2 separate regions of the Homo sapiens genome follow, and region 2 is linked to region 1. Evidence: promoter capture Hi-C in 16 types of primary human blood cells and fetal thymus (Javierre and others, 2016). All regions are on one chromosome and are shown on one strand. The core of a region is centred on a gene start or on the middle of the fragment in contact, and the rest is flanking DNA. Distances in the headings are between cores, read along the strand shown.

Region 1 (3,363 bases), core at 225-2,724:
TGAGCCACCGCGCCTGGCTTCAAATGACCTCTTAAATAAAGGTGTGGAAGGACACACTCCTGGCTGTGAACAGCACCCGTGGTCCAGGAGGAGACAGCACTCCTCTGTGAACATCTTGCTTAGTTCTACATGTTCCAAGAAGCAGGCGATTTGACAGACATTCATTAAATTAATTAAAGTGTAAGGTATTTTCTCCCATTTGAACCATCCGCCTTCCCCCAATCCATGCAGGACCTGGACCCAGACACACCCCAGCCCAGGGCTGGACAGAGAGGGGATCGGGGTGGGGCAATGTGAAGCTGCTATGGTTAGGGTGGGGAGGTATGGGGGCAAAGTGGGCTACAGACTGCAGGATCTAGGCCTGGAGGTCTTCAGTGCTGACATACAGAAGGTTTTTGGTCCTGAAATGCTAACTACATCTATCACCATGGAGAAAAGCCCAATGACCTGCTACTTGGGAGGCTAAGGTGGGAGGATCACTTGAGCCAGGGAGGTCGTGGCTGCAGTAAGCCATGATCACACCACTGCACTCCAGCCTGGGCAATGGAGCAAGATCCTGTCTCAAAAGAAAAAAACCCAGTGACCAATGGCTCACAGTTCCAGGACTCTCTGCCTTACAGGTTCCTGCCCTCATGTTACTCTTGGGGCTTCAAAGCCTGGTCTTGCTTCCTGTGTGGCCTCAGGCAGTTCCCTTGGCCTCTCTGAGCCCTGTATGAAGGATGGGCCAAGTATGGGCTTGGGCTTGGGAGGCCCGGTGGCTTGTAGCTAGATTTCTGCATCACAGAGCCTCTGGATCCATTCATTCATTCTCCGCGGGTTTCTTAAGTACTGCAGTGCCAGGCTTTGGGGACACAGCTGTTTTTGTTTTTGTTTTGTTTTGTTTGAGACAGAGTCTCACTCCGTCAACCAGGCTGGAGTGGAATGGCACGACCTCAGATCACTGCAACCTCCACCTCCTGGGTTCAAGTGATTCTCCTGCCCCAGCCTCCCAAGTAGCTGGGATTATAGGCGTGTGCCACCACACCCAGGTAATTTTTGTATTGTTTGTATTGTTAGTAGGTCTCAAACTCCTGACCTCAGGTGATTCGCCCGTCTCCGCCTCCCAACATGCTTTGACTACAGGTGTGAGCCACTGCGCCTGGCAGGGGTCACAGCTGTTAATAGGACAGCCCAAGTTCCCCCCTCCCCCGCTTGGATCCCCCAGTCTACTAGGAGATGTCAACTGTGCAAGTGGTTAGCTCTGGGCACTATGCCCACAGGGTCCTGGTGGCATCTGGAGGGTACCAGGGTAGCATACCATGCCTGTTCTCTTTCCCTGCTGTGACCTGTTTGAAGGATGAGGAGCCAACAGGGGGCAGTTTGGGGCACCTGATTTCCCTGGACCATGAGCCTTGCTCCAGAACCCAATTGTGATGTGATAAAAGGCTTATGACCAGGGCAGGGGGCAGCTGCTGGGCCGCCTTGGACAACCATCAGGCAGCCAGGACACAGAGGGGCAGAGCAAGTCAGCATTGGCGCCCCTTCCTCAGATCCCTATCATCTTGGGAAACAGTAGCCCAGAGGTTCAGGAAGATGTTAACTTAAATGTTCAGGGTGCCCCAGTCTGTTCAGCATGGCTGAAATCCACACTCCGTATTCTTCCTTGAAGAAACTGTTATCTTTACTCAATGGCTTCGTGGCTGTAAGTATGTCACAATCCAGGCCCCTGGTTTGTTGCAGCCCTTCCTCCACAGTCAGCTCCCTGAAAGACAGAAATAAGTTGATCCAAATTGGCATCGAGATCTGTGGTTCCCTGGAGAAGCAGGAGGGATGTAGGGCAGACGGAGGAGGAGGAGCAGGGAGCGTGGGGACCTCCATCAACCGAGAGCTGGTGAAATCCAGCACAGATGAGTGTGATCTGGGGGAGCCCAGGTGGGTGATGGAAGAGCTTGGCTCTAAGTCAAATCCTGTAGCCGACCAAGTTGTTTGGGAAGGCCAGGAGAAAGGGTTATTTTCTTGATCTTTTAAATTTGTCACATTTTTTTCCTTACCGTAAAAGTAACCCGAAATGTACATTGCTAAGGAATTGTCAGGCCGGGGGCGCTGGCTCATGCCTGTAATCCCAACGCTTTGGGAGGCCAAGGCGGGTGGATCACGAGGTCAGGAGTTCAAGACCAGCCTTGGTCAATATGGGGAAACCCCATCTCTACTAAAAATACAAAAAAATTAGATGGGCGTGGTGGCACGTGCCTATAATCCCAGCTACTCAGGAGGCTGAGGCATGTGAATTGCTTGAACCTGGGCGGCAGAGGTTGGCAGTGAGCCGAGATTGTGTCACTGCACTCCAGCCTGGGCAACATAGCGAGACTCTGTCTCAATAAAAAAATAAAAGAATAAAAACATAAAAAGAAGTAATTGTCTTCATTGTAGCATAGTCTAAGGAAAAGCTGCCAGGAAAGAGAAGGAAATGAAATATCACTCCTCCTCTTCACTTGTAACATTTTAAAGAGAATTAAGGCCGGCTGTGGTGACTCATGCCTGTAATCCCAGCACTTTGGGAGGCCGAGGTGGGCAGATCCATTGAGCCAGGAGCTCGAGACCAGCTATAGTGAGATCCCCATCTCTATTTAAAAAATAATAATACAAAATAAAGTGTTATTGGAACATGGCCGTGCTCACTTATTTGGAGATTGTGAACAGCTGCTTTTGGGCTACACCAATAGAACTGCGTAGTTTCAACAGACACCTTAAGTCCTGCAGAGGCCACAACATCTGGGTTTTTCAGAAAAAAAAAATTGCTAATCCCTGTCCTATGACATTATTTTATTTTATTTTATTTTATTTTATTTTGAGACGGAGTCTTGCTCTGTCACCCAGGCTGGAGTGCAGTGGCATGATCTCAGCTCACTGCAACCTCCACCTCCCAGGTTTAAGCGATTCTTCTGCCTCAGCCTCCTGAGTAGCTGGGATTACAGGTGCCCACCACCACGCCCGGCCAATTTTTGTATTTTTAGTAGAGACAGGGTTTCGCCATGTTGGCCAGGCTGGTCTCGAACTCCTGACCTCAGGTGATCCACCTGCTTCGGCCTCCCAAAGTGCTGGGATTACAGGTGTGAGCCACTGTGGCTGGCCTATTTTATTTTTTGAGACAAGGTCTTGATCTGTCATCCAGGCTGGAGTACAGTGGCACAGTCATAGCTCACTGCAGTCTCAACCTCATGAGCTAAAGTGATCCTCCCACTGCAGACACCTGAGTAGCTGAGACTACAGGCACGCACTACTACTGGCTATTTTTTTTTTGTTGGGGAGAGGGTACAGATGAGGTCTTACCAAGCTGGTCTTGAACTCCTGGGCTCAAGTCTTGGCCTTGGCCTCCCAAAGTGC
Region 2 (2,906 bases), core at 43-2,542, 290 kb after region 1:
AAAAATGAAAATTACTCTTGCCTGTAATCCCAGCATTTAGGGAGGCTCAGGTGGGAAGATTGCTTGAGCCTAGGAGTTTGAGACCAACCTGGGCAATATGGTGAGACTTTGTCTCCAATATAGATAGATGATAGACGGATGGATAGAAGATAGACAGATTAGACAGAGAGAGAGAGAGAAAGGAGAGAGAGAGAGAGAGAGAAAAGAGGGGAGGGGAGGGGAGGGGAGGGGAGGGGAGGGGAGGGGAGGAGAGGAGAGGAGAGGAGAGGAGAGGAGAGGAGAGGAGAGGAGAGGAGAGGAGAGGAGAGAGAAATTAGGCAGAGGAGAGGAGAGAGAAATTAGGCAGATGCCTTGGGCAGTGAAGTCCCTGGGGATGGTCTACTGTTCCCGCAGCCTGAGCGCCTTTTTCAGACGTTTTTATCTGTCCACTGCTGCCCCTGCATGGCCACAGCCTGAACTGCAGCACCGAACGCAGACCCAGTTTCCCTTTTGGAGAAGAAATTAATGCTCCTTCCAGCCCCCCACTTGCCACTAGGCCTGTGCAGGGCGTGGACAGATTCTACAGTGGATCCAGCCAGAGACTGCCCCAGAGAAAATTCCAGGGGTGGGATGAGTGAGGTATGCTGGGACTGGAATGTTTGTAGGATAACATGATGAGCAGCCGGATTCCCAGGAAATTGCAAACCGTGTCTGCTCTGGTGAGATTCTCAGAGGAGGGGATCTATAGGCAGTTCTGAGTAGGCACTGGGTAAAAGCCTGGAAAGAGGACCCTGGCTTGGATGGGGCTCTGCCTCACTCGCCATGAGCTCCTTGGCGCTATCAGTCAGCACAGTTCAGCTGCATGGGTGTGAAGGTGTCCTGGTGACTGGCTACCCCCATGCCTGCCTCAGTGCACGGGAGGTGGAATTATGGATTTGGTGGGGCTCGCACAGGCTAAGGGACTGATTTTCAGTCTGGAGAATGGGAGGGCAGGATGAGCTGTGGAGGGTCAGGCTGGTGGTTTGGAGGGTGGCATGATGTAAATGTAGCTGTTCACTGTTGTAGTTTGCTGCCACCAGTTCAGTCTGGCTAGGTTCCAGGTGGGTCAATAATCTCAAATGGGGCTGGGCTCAGTGGCTCACACCTGTAATCCCAGCACTTCGGGAGGCCGAGGCGGGTGGATCACTTGAGGCCAGGAGTTCGAGACTAGCCTGCCTAACATGGTGAAACCTCGTCTATACCAAAATATAAAAAATTAGCCAGGTGTGGTGGCGGGCGCCTGTAAGCCCAGCTACTCGGGAGACTGAGGCAGGAGAATGCTTGAACCCAGGGGGTGGAGGTTGCAGTGAGCCAAGATCGTGCCACTGCACTCCAGCCTGGGCGACAGAGCGAGATTCCACCAAAACAAACAAACAAACAAAATCCCAAATCGGGAGAGGTGAGGTGGGGTCTGTCATGCCAAGGAGTTGGTTTCTTTCTTTTTTTTTTTTTTTTTTGAGATGGAGTCTCAGTCTGTCACCCAGGCTGGAGTGCAGTGGCGCTATCTCGGCTCACTGCAAGCTCCGCCTCCCGGGTTCACGCCATTCTCCTGCCTCAGCCTCCCAAGTAGCTGGGACTACAGGTGCCCGCCACCACGCCCGGCTAATTTTTTGTATTTTTAGTAGAGACGGGATTTCACCGTGTTAGCCAGGTTGCTCTCGATCTCCTGACCTCTTGATCCGCCCGCCTCGGCCTCCCAAAGTGCTGGGATTACAGGCGTGAGCCACCGCGCCCGGCCAGGAGTTGGTCTTTATATTACCTAACTCCCACCTCTTTCCTCAATGATTTGAACGTTTGATCATTTGAATGTTTGAATGTTTGATCCTCGTGATCAAACATTCCCGTTACTCTCTAGACCCCATCATGCTCCCCCAACCCCTCCCCACATCCTCTCAGATATCCACCAGCTCTAGCCCCCAGAGTAAAAACATCCATCGTCTCCACCATCAAGTGAAAGCAAATGGTGACTTCCTTGCCTCAGCCATTGCTGAGCCAGTTGGATGGCAAGGAGGAAAACCCCACCCAAGCCCCACCTAACCCCTGTCCTCCTTTTCATCCCAGCCGGTGCCCACTGATTCCATGGTTACCTGACTTATCCACTCCAGCTCCTGGTCCTTCTATCCTGGGTACCGCTGAACTGCTTGGGAGTAGCAGGCTGAGAAGTTCTGGTGCCCCTCCTGCAGCAAGGCTGTCAGCGGGCACGGGAGGATGCGGGGACCGGCTGGAGTAAGCCATAGCCAGGGCAGGAAGGAGCCCCACACAGATCTCCCTCAGCTGTGAACTCCACAACGACCCACCTCACAGTCAACAACACCAATGGACACTCGTTCCTCTAATCCCGTTATTACTAGGCACCCATTTCTCTCCACCCAAGGTTTTGTTCACCATCCTCAATTATTTATTATTTTTTTGAGATGGAGTCCAGGCTGAAGTGCAGTAACGCAATTTCGGCTCACTGTAGCCTCTGCCTCCCGGGTTCAAGCGATTCCCCTGTCTCAGTCTCCCAAGTAGCTGGGATTACAGGCCCCCGGCACCACGCCCAGCTACTTTTTGTATTTTTAGTAGAGACGGGGTTTCCCCATGTTTGCCAGGCTGGTCTCAAACTCTTGACTTCAGGTCATCTGCCTGCTTCGGCCTCCCAAAGTGCTGGGATTACAGACGTGAGCCACCACGCCCAGCCGGTACCCCCAATTATTTCAGTATTCATGATCCGCAGGAAGGAATACATATGTTTTGTTGTTGTTGTTGTTGTTTTGTTTTGTTTCTTTTGTATTTTTAGTAGAGATGGGATTTTGCCATGTTGGCCAGGCTGGTCTCAAACTCCTGACCTCAGGTGATCCTCCTGCCTCGGCCTCCCAAAGTGCTGGGATTACAGTTGTAAGCCACCA

Evidence for each region. The method cuts DNA at HindIII sites, captures the fragments that hold promoters and counts their contacts. A CHiCAGO score of 5 or more calls a contact.
Region 2: a fragment that was not itself captured here is called in contact with the fragment with the promoter of TSPAN16 in region 1 in 1 of 17 cell types (endothelial precursors); the score reaches 7.9 in endothelial precursors.

The regions. Positions count from the first base shown.
Region 1 is chr19:11,294,686-11,298,048 of GRCh38, forward strand. It overlaps TSPAN16 (tetraspanin 16), which reads left to right and starts at 1,475. Exons shown (of 7, transcript NM_001282509.2): 1 at 1,475-1,681. The coding sequence starts at 1,613. The HindIII fragment of the contact is 19,527 bases long and covers 1-3,363 here.
Region 2 is chr19:11,587,374-11,590,279 of GRCh38, forward strand. No RefSeq gene overlaps it. Among named protein-coding and RNA genes, the nearest start is that of ZNF627, 8.7 kb to the right of the region's middle. The HindIII fragment of the contact is 6,110 bases long and covers 1-2,906 here.